Linked DNA regions of Homo sapiens: region 1 is linked to region 2. Evidence: promoter capture Hi-C in human tissues and cell types (Jung and others, 2019). All regions are on one chromosome and are shown on one strand. Each heading gives the region's core, a stretch centred on a gene start or on the middle of the fragment in contact. The rest is flanking DNA. Distances are from core to core; before and after follow the strand shown. Region 1 holds the start of GAL (galanin and GMAP prepropeptide). Region 2 holds the start of LOC124902700 (a long non-coding RNA gene).

What was found. Contacts are between HindIII fragments. The study calls those that stand out against the background at their distance.
Region 1: a contact is called between the fragment with the promoter of GAL here and a fragment that was not itself captured in region 2, in 3 of the 25 tissues and cell types used here (lymphoblastoid cells, mesendoderm cells and psoas muscle).

What each region holds. Positions count from the first base shown.
Region 1 is chr11:68,680,922-68,685,903 of GRCh38, forward strand. GAL (galanin and GMAP prepropeptide) reads left to right here and starts at 3,623. Exons shown (of 6, transcript NM_015973.5): 1 at 3,623-3,811; 2 at 4,003-4,083; 3 at 4,673-4,727. The coding sequence starts at 4,003. All of the region lies in intron 2 of LOC107984343 (a long non-coding RNA gene), which reads right to left. RefSeq lists enhancers at 2,342-3,017, 3,694-4,369. The HindIII fragment of the contact is 15,033 bases long and covers 1-4,982 here.
Region 2 is chr11:68,851,731-68,856,499 of GRCh38, forward strand. LOC124902700 (a long non-coding RNA gene) reads left to right here and starts at 1,636. Exons shown (of 3, transcript XR_007062752.1): 1 at 1,636-1,669. RefSeq lists a silencer at 3,860-3,919. The HindIII fragment of the contact is 8,710 bases long and covers 1-4,769 here.

The DNA.
Region 1 (4,982 bases), core at 2,373-4,872, 170 kb before region 2:
CACTGGGCTGTCTTCAAGATGACAGGTTGACAATGACTGCCATTGGGTCATTACTGAGCAAAGAGCCATTAGCACACTGGCTGTGGTTCCAGCACAGTCTGTGCCGGGAGGCAGGTGTCTGTCATCCCAGGTGTGCTGGCCTCATTTGTCTGAAGGAATCTGCCGACCTCAGGAAACCCCAGCACGCCTTCAGGCCACTGCCTTGCTTGTCTGTAGCCTTCCCATGGTCACCGCACTTCCGGGCCAGGGTCCCAGCCAGGGTTTATACCGAGACCCACTCACCCAGACTAAGCGGGAAGCAAGACGGTGGGTGTCATCCCACGTGGAAAAAGAACTTAGGGACCTGGAGGAATCAGGCATGGGCATGTTTATTTTGAATACATGTGTCTAATTATTCAATGGAGCTTTCTTAAATGAATTCAAAATACATGTGAAGATTTGTTTCCAGTTGCTTAATGTCTTTTTAATAAGGAGGCTCTGACCAGATAACCTACCCTGAAATTTCTTTTTCGTTTGTTTTTTGTTTTTTGTTTTTCGAGACGGAGTCTCGCTCTGTCACCCAGGCTGGAGTGCAGTGGCACGATCTAGGCTCACTGCAAGCTCCGCCTCCTGGGTTCACGCCATTCTCCTGCCTCAGCCTCCCAAATAGCTGGGACCACAGGCGCCTGCCACCACTCCCGGCTAATTTTTTGTATTTTTGGTAGAGACGGGGTTTCACCATGTTAGCCAGGATGGTCTCGATCTCCTGACCTTGTGATCCACCCGCCTTGGCCTCCCAAAGTGCTGGGATTACAGGCATGAGCCACCGCACCCGGCCTGAAATTTATTTTTCTTTTTTTCCTTTCTCTTTCCTCACTTTCCTTCCTTCTCTTTTCTTCTTCTCCTTCTCCTCCTCGTCCTCCTCCTTCTTCTTCTTCTTTCTTCTTCTTCCCTTCTCTCTCTCTCTCTCTCTCTCTCCCTCCCTCCCTCCTTCTTTCTTTCTTGACAGAGACTTGCTCTGTTGCCTATGCTGGAGTGCAGGCTTGATCGTGGCTCACTGTAGCCTCAACCTCCTGGGCTCAGGTGATCCTCCCACCTCAGCCTCCTGAGCTGAGTAGCTGGGACTACAGGCACGTGCCATCATGCTTGGCTGATTTTTAAAAAATATTTATTTATTTATTTTTAGTAGAGATGAGGCCTTGCTATGTTGCCCCAGCTGGTCTTGGACTCCAGGGCTCAAGTGATCTATCTACTCACCTCAGCCTCCCAAAATGCTGGGATTACAAGCGTGAGCCACTGCGCCCAGTCTGAAGTTTCTTTGAAAGCAAAAAAGGAAACAAAAAGAGTACATAGGCCCAAATGAAGACAGCTGAAAGTTTAATGTACCTCAAATTCCAGCCCATGACTAAGGGATGGACTTTGAGTCTCTTTTCGAATCCATCTCAAGGATTTAGGTTTAGAGTTTGTGCTCCTTTAAACAGACTAAGAGCCTCTGTGACAAAGTAAATAGAGAAAATAAGTGTAGTCAAGCTCTGGCAGGATTTGGAAGGGGGCCTAACGTGGAAGAAAGGAGAAGGCTGGAATTGACTAAGATGTGCTATGCACTGGGCTGGATTTGTTCTCAGCAGAAAGCAAGAAAGAGCTCTGGGATGGTAGCAGGGCTCCCACTACCACCGGGGGCCAAAGGTTGCAGTATTTCTCAGGTAGCCAAGAGGCACCCATGAGCCCAGCCCCTGCCCACTCCCTGATGTCATCTAGACACAAGGACATGGGGCATGAGAGGACATCATTGTCACTTCTCTGCAGAGTCACAGGAACGTGCCCTCTGCTCCTCCGCCTCTCGGCTGTCCTTCTGCCCACGGCTGGCCCAGACTCTCATGGCGACTCACTGTCTCCCACGCCCCCACTCCCGGCAGGAAACCACTTCAGGGTTTACTGTGGGCTCCGAAATCAGCCTGTGAGTCCTAGTTAGGGTCCCCTGTGCCTGACTCTCCTCTCCCCAGGCTGCAAGAAATAGGGATGACCAGAAGTCAAACTGTGCCCTTGGGAACACCCCACCCCTCACCACTGTCGTGCCAGGAGTCTGTTCCTAAGACCCCTCCCCAAGTCCTGTCTCCTCCTCTTCCTCCCATAAACCACAGCAGACACTCAGCCACCAGGCTGCAGCCCTGCACCTTCTCCAGCAGCCGCTGGCCTTCGCCAGAGTTCTTGAAAGCCCAGTTGTCCTTCCCCAGCCACGTGGAGGCAGACGGATCTCTCCTGGGGGCAGCCTGTAGCTGTCTGTGCAAAGGTTCCCAAGACTAAAGTGTAGAGGACAGGTAAGATGACACTGTCATGATCATCATTCGTCCTGTGCCCTGTGGACATCAACCCACAGATGTGACATCAACCCATCTGATATTGAGCCCAGTGGGTGGGGAGATCCTAACCCAGCTGCTGCTGTTGAGGACTTGGGTGGTGTCTGGCCAGTGGGAGGGGAGGTCAGGCGAGTTTTCAGCAGATGACCCCGTGCTCTTCGGAAGCCCGGAGGTGCCACACTGTACAAGTGTGATGCCTGGGATCCTGTGCTCCCCTGATGCCTGGGAATGGGGTGAAGGAACAGCCTAGGCTTGGGTTCTCTCCTGGGTTGTTTCGGGACTTGGCCCCAGCTCAGGAAGGGTTTGTGGAGGAGCCAAGGAGGGCCTTGTTCCTGTGGGATGTCTTTGCCTTGGGCACAAGGACAGCCTCTTGCTGCTGCTCTGCCCACCGCCCACCCCTTGGCGGCCTCTGGGAGTCTGGGCTGCTCTCCCTCTGGACCTAACCAGTTGCCCAATGGCTGGACCTGCTTAAAGCTCCCTCTTACAACTGGACCAGGCAGCCAGGGGAGGCACTGAGAGGCCGAGCTTCTGAGCTGGTGCCTGTGGATGCTCGACGGTCCCGCAGCTCCCACAATGGGATGGCCAAGCAGACCCTGAGATCCACAGCCCCCCTTTAGTGAAACAGGAGGGAGGTCGCTGGGCACAGGGAGCCGGGAACGCCTGCCCTCCCCGCCATCGACGGCTCCCGAGGCCTGAACCTTCGCTCCAGCCCCAGCACAAGCCGGCCAGGGCGCAGGGCCAAGTGTTGCCCGCCATTCCCCGGGTACCCCATGACCTCCCAGCTGGGGCTGGCTCGGACTGAGGAGTCGTCCCTGCCCGTCACCCTCTGGGGTCTCCAGTGCTGCGGAGCTCAGCTGGCTTTTGCAGCGGTAGGGGCTGGGAGGAGAAGCTGCAGGGAGACCGCAGGCGTGGGACGTTGTGGGGGGTCAGGCTTGCTCTGGGGCTGGGACCCCGGGGGGAGCAGTGGGGTTGACGCCACAGCGATGACTTGGGCCACGGGTCTGGGGGCTCTCCCGCGGGGCGATTGGGCTCTGTCTTTCGGGATTAGGGTCTCTCCCACAGGGTTTGGGGTTCTCTCTGCAGATTTGGGGGAGTCTCTCCCGCGGGATGAGGGGGGGCTCTCCGCCGCACCCGCCTATGATGGCCCAGAGGACCCGAGCTCGGGTCACTCCCGTCGCCCTCGGGGCTCGGCGAGGGTGCAGGAGGCGGGCGCTGAGCCGGTGACGCGACTCCGGGCGGCTCCCGGGTGCGCCGCATATATAGCAGCGGCGGCGGTGGCGGCGGCCACACCGGGCGGCGGACACGTGGAGGGACCCGGCCCGCGCCTTCTGCCCCTGCTGCCGGCCGCGCCATGCGGTGAGCGCCCCAGGCCGCCAGAGCCCACCCGACCCGGCCCGACGCCCGGACCTGCCGCCCAGACCCGCCACCGCACCCGGACCCCGACGCTCCGAACCCGGGCGCAGCCGCAGCTCAAGGTACTACTGGCGCCGGGCCGACCCTGCGCCCCCGGGAGGCCTCCCCTTCGGCTTTCCTCTGCCCAGGGACGGTTCTGCCAGGGCCCTGGCCCGGCCGCCGCCTCTGCTCCTCCCCGCAGCCCCGGCACTCCTTGCCTCGGGGCGCAGCCCACTCCGGGTTCCGACCCGCCCGCCCTGTCCTTCCCTTCCAGATGGCCCGAGGCAGCGCCCTCCTGCTCGCCTCCCTCCTCCTCGCCGCGGCCCTTTCTGCCTCTGCGGGGCTCTGGTCGCCGGTAAGTGCGGGGCGCGTCTCCTCCGAGCGAAGGGGACATCAGAGCCGGCCGGGCGTGGAGGGCTTCCTGGAGGAGGCAGCCTCCGCCCTGCCCGCGGGGATGGGGGTGGAAAGTGGAAAGGCGGGCGCTGTCCTGGCTGCGGGCGTCGCGGGAAGGGTCCGGGGCTCCCTGGGATTCCCCCCGCGCGCTTCTCCGAGTGTATCAACAGCCCCGGGCTATAACCAGGCCGCCGGGAGAGCTCTGCGCTTCGGGTCAGCGCCTCGGGAAAGCGAGAAGCTCGCCCGTTCCGCAGGGCTTAGTTAGAATGGAGGGCTAGGAGCCACTGGCGTGGCCTCAGCGTCACTAAAGCAGGTGCAGTGCGCTGAGAGTGCGCGGGCTCAGGCCCTCAAGTGAAGTATTTCGTAAATAAAGTGGTTCCATTTTCATGTCAAATATAGCCGACTTAGGGGTAAACCTGGAATTTCGCGAGCTATCCAAAAGCACATGCATTGTTCTAAGTCCTCTGCCATGCCGGGAAAGCCTGGGTGCACCCATTCAGCATAGGCTCCAGGCACAGCCCTGGCATCTGATCCCCTTTTCTCCCTTCAAGGCCAAGGAAAAACGAGGCTGGACCCTGAACAGCGCGGGCTACCTGCTGGGCCCACGTAAGTGACTGACAGCATGGCCTCCCCACTCCTGACCCCACCTGCCCCTCGCTTTGAACCCTGGCTCCTGCCCCTCCGCCTGCGGCTGGGCAGACCCTCTGGCCTCCCTCTTGACCTCATTGCCCGTCTCCATTGCTCTGCACACTTGATCTGTGTACGGTTCTTTCCAGAAGCTTCTCCTGCCCCGGCTCTGCCGCCCTGTCCCGGGGTGAGATTCCCACCCTGGGCTTTGCTCAAGTTCTCCTGGGCTTTCCC
Region 2 (4,769 bases), core at 467-2,966:
AGCTGAGATCGTGCCATTGCACTCCAGCCTGGGCGACAAGAGCAAGACTCCATCTAAAAATAAAAATAAAAATAAAAAATAAAAAAATAAAAAGCAAAGGAGAAAAACAAACCAGGGAGTCGGGCAGAGTGTGGCTCTGGCATGGGGTGGGTGGGGACTAGCTTACAGATTTGATAGACCATAAGCCCCCTAGGGCTGGAAACCCTGGAAACCAGAACCAGATACATAACTTGGGTTTCAGAAATGTTAGCTGAATGACTGAGTGATGGTTGGGATGGACGGGTGGAGGGTTGGGGCTCTGCAGGCTTAGCTGCCTGGTGCCCCTCCATCTGGCCCTTCCCTTCCAGGCCCTCACCCCATTTCCATGTCTCCCACAGGAACCTCTAAACTGTCCCCATGTGTGCCCTTCTTCGCGGTCACCTTCTGTGCCCCAACATCTTTGAGGCAATCTGTGGCCTCCAGGCAGAACAGGCTTCAAAATTTGTCAAGCAAAGTGAAATGAAGGCTGAGACCTTTGATCAAAAACTATGAAGAATTTCAAGCTGAGGTGGGAAGATCGCTTGAAACCAGGAGTTTGAGACCAGCCTGGGCAACAAAGCCAGACCTTGTCTCTACCAAAAATAAAAAATTACCTGGTGGTGTGCCTGTAGTCCCAGCTACTTGAGAGGCTGAGGTAAGAGAATGGCTTCAGCTTGAGCCCAGGAGTTCGAGGCTGCAGTGAGCTATGATCGCACCACTGCACTCCAGCCTGGGTGACAGAGCTCTCGAGACTCAGTCTCCAAAATAAATAAATACATAAAATTGAAAAAAATTTTAAAAAACAAGAAAGGAATTTCAAGCCAGTGACTGCAGAGCATGAAACTAACCACGAAGCCCTGTTAAGTTCTCCCCTTGTGTGACTGTGCGAGTTGCATTTCCCGGAAGCTGGCCCTTCCTCTCAGGCAGGCCGGAAAGACCTCCTAGAGATCTGTGCCCAAACGACCTTTCCAACCTGGGCTCACAAACCTCACTGGGCTCTGTGCTCTCTCCACTGAAAACCTCACCCCACCTCCTGCCTCTGAGCATCTGTTCTCGCTGTTCCCTCTGCCCAGCGTGCCTTTCCACTCACTTCTTCTTGTTTTTGTGCACAGCCATGGATCAGGTGCCAGGAGAGGAGACGGAGGCAAAGCAGGGCCAGTCAGCTCTCCAGAGAAGACACTCTCAGAGGGCAGCTGCAGCCTTGCTCCACTGCAAGGCTCAAGCAGAAGCTTCCTCTGCTGCAAAATGGAGCAGCCATAAGAACCACGATGCAGGATCTGAGGTGCAACTCTGCTAAGCTCTCTGTCTTTTTTTTTTTTTTTTAGATGAAGTCTTGATCTCTTGCTCTGTCGCACAGACTGGAGTGCAGTGTTGAGATCTCGGCTCACTGCAACTCCGCCTCCCGGGTTCAAGCGATTCTCCTGCCTCAGCCTCCCAAGTAGCTGGATTACAGGTGGGCGCCACCACGTCCTGCTAATTTTTGTTGTTGTTTTGTTTTTTTTGTTTTGTTTTGTTTTGTTTTTTGAGATGGAGTTTTTGCTCTTGTTGCCCAGGCTGGAGTGCAATGGTGCGATCTTGGCTCACGGCCACCTCTGCCTCCCGGGTTCAAGTGATTCTTCTGCCTCAGCCTCCCGAGTAACTGGGATAACAGGTATGTATCACCATGCCTGGCTAATTTTGTATTTTTAGTAGAGAAGGGGTTTCTCCATGTTGGTCAGGCTGGTCTCGAACTCCCAACCTCAGGTGATCCACCCACCTTGGCCTCCTAAAGTGCTGGGATTACAGGTGTGAGCCACTGTGTCTGGCCATTTGTGTATTTTTAGTGGAGATGAGGTTTTGCCATTTTAGCTAAGCTGGTCTCGAACTCCTGACCTCAGGTGATCCACCCGCCTCGGCCTCCCAAAGTGCTGGGATTGCAGGTGTGAGCCACTGCGCCTGGCCCTGCTAAGCTCTCTTTTTTTTAATCTACTGAGATTTGACTCACATACCATAAAGTTCACTGTTTTCAAGTGTACAATTCAATCGATTTTGGTATATACACAGGGTTGTGCAACCACCACCACAATCTAATTTCCTAAACATTTTCCCCTAAACAAAACACTCAACCCATTAGCAGCCTTTCTCCCCATGTTCCCCACCCGGGGCAGCCACCAGTCCACTTTTTGTCAAATTCACATATGGATTTGCCTATTTTGCACATTTCATAGGAATGGGATCCTACAACATGTGGTCGTTGGTGACTGCCTTTTTTCACTGAGTATCATGTCTTCAGGGTTCACCAATGTTGTAGCCTGGGTCGGTGTTTCACTCCTTTGTATAGCTGAATAGTACTCTGTTTGTCCGGACAGACCACATTGGATGCGTCCATTCATGATAGGACAGATGCGCACAGTACAGCACTTTCAGTCTGCCTGGGAGGTGGGTGTGGGTGCCCGGACCTCCCACGCTGACCTTGATCCTGAAATATAACCCAATGGCTGTCTCCTTTCCCTTCTGGAAGATTCCCACTCAGCCTTCAAGGTCCACTCGGAGGTCACTTGCGTCCCCCCATTACCCCAAATAGACATAATGCCTTCCTCCGCTGTGCTTGCAGTGAGGCTTCTTCCTTGTCTAAGACCCACCCGTCTCTCCCCCCTCGCCGCTCCAGTCCGAAACTGCGATTGTCCTGTTTCTGGGGTCCTGGGCGTCTCCAACCCCCCAAAACGTTTGTGCATTGGAAAAATGGGGAATTGGCTGGGCGCTCATTGGCTGCCGGAGAAGCTAATTGTTTCCTTGAAGTCACAGGTTTCGGACGGAGGAAAGAAGAGTTGGGGTATTCTGGCGGTAGGGACCGGTGGGGAGGAGGAAGTGACCCTCCTCTAAGGCCCAGGGTCGGGGGAGGTGGGGAGGGAGCGGCCGACCGGCCGAATAGCGCTGCTTTCTTTGTTTTTCATGCAACATAATTCCATGGCCAGTCCAGGCGCTGCAGCCCCCTCCCCTGCCGGCCCCGGCGCCCGCGCAGGACCGCAGAGGGGCTGGGGGTCCAGGGCGCAGTCTAGTTCCAGGGCGCCCGCGCAGCCGCGGGTCCTTCCCTCTGGGAAGGAGCTGGCGGAGGCTAGGGAGGGGGCGTGCGGGTGTCCCCCGCCTTCCTCAGCTCCTCTAAGCGCCCATGGAGAGCCCCAGTTCCGTCCCAGGCTCTCCCTCGGCTCCTCTTTTTATTTATTTATTTATTTGTTTGTTTGTTTATTTATTTATGATGGAGTCTCGCTCTGTCGCCCAGGCTGGAGCACAATGGCATGATCTCGGCTCACTGCAACCTCTGCCTCCCCGGTTCAAGCGAATCTCCTGCCTCAGCCTCCTGAGTAGCTGGGATTACAGACGCTCGCCACTACACCCGGCTAATGTTTGTATTTTTAGTAGAGACGGGGTTTCACCATATTGGCCAGGCTGGTCTCGAACTCCTGACCTCGTGATCCGCCCGCCTCGGCTTCCCAAAGTGCTGGGATCCTCGGCTCCTCTTTTGCAGACGAGGAGGCGCAGGGGCGAGTGGGGAGGGCGTCCTCGGTGAGCGCGCGAATACCCTCCTGAGTCAGCTGGGTCGGCGGCGGCTGGCAGGAGAGGCCCCCCACGGCCGGGGCGATAGCTGAAGGTGGAGGTTGACCCAGGCTGCGCCCGGGTGGAAGAAGTTAGACTGCAGGAGGGACCAGCGGGCATTGGCGTGAACCCCTCAGTCGCCCCTCCAGAGTGTGAAATTGCCTCTTTGCCCGACGCCGGGCTGGGACTGGGGGTGGGGAGAGACGGAGCAGGGATGGCCGCCCGCTGCCCGGTGCGCTTCCCGGAGCTGCGCAGAGCCCCGAGACCCGGAGGGAGGACCGAGCGCGCTGCGCGAGCACCCCCGGTCGCCTGCCGGCGCTCAGCACCGAGCACTTTTTCCTGCTCCGGGTGTTCTCGGTCCACCCTGCAGCCCAGCCCCGGCGGACCCGCCCCCGGCCCGGCCCAGCGTCCCCAGGGGCTCCCGGCCCACCCCGTCCGTTCTGGAGCGAGAGTTCACTCCCCGGGCTGACTGCTCCAAGCCCCCTTTATTAGAAGCATTCCTTGTGGAAAAACAGGAAACACTGACCTGTAAAACAAAACGCTTATTAAAATCGCCTGGAATCTTGTTGCCTGATTAGCATGCCGCTCTGCTTCCTGTTTTTGGTCTGTGCTACTTTCCATATAGTTTTCTCAACTCTTTTTGTGCGCGCTAACAAAATGGAAGTCACTTGGTATATAAGCGTTTCTGCTCGTTATTTTTTAACATTTATATTTATAAACGTTGTTTTCCTCGAGTAATAAATACAATCTCTTGAGAAGACACCGAAACTGAACAGCGAAGCCCCGTGGCCCCTCTCCCTCCCACACCCTTCCACTCCCCCTCTGGAAGTAAGCACAGTTGTGAGTCGGCTGTGTATTCTCCCAGTCTTTTTCGCATTTTATGTACCGTATATATATCTAGAAATACATAGTTTTATTTAGGAGTCGCTTTAATGTAAAGCAGATGGGGTTGTAGATACAGTTCTAGAACGGGCTTTCCCCCACTTAACAGTGAGTTTGGAAATTGCTTGGCCTAGACCTGCTTGTTTCTTTTTTTTTTTTTTTTTCTTGAGACGGAGTCTCTTGTTGCCCAGGCTAGAGTGCAGTGGCACGATCTCAGCTCACTGAAACCTCCGCCTCCCAGGTTCAAACGATTCTCCTGCCTCAGCCTCCCAAGTAGCTGGGAGTACAGGCATGCG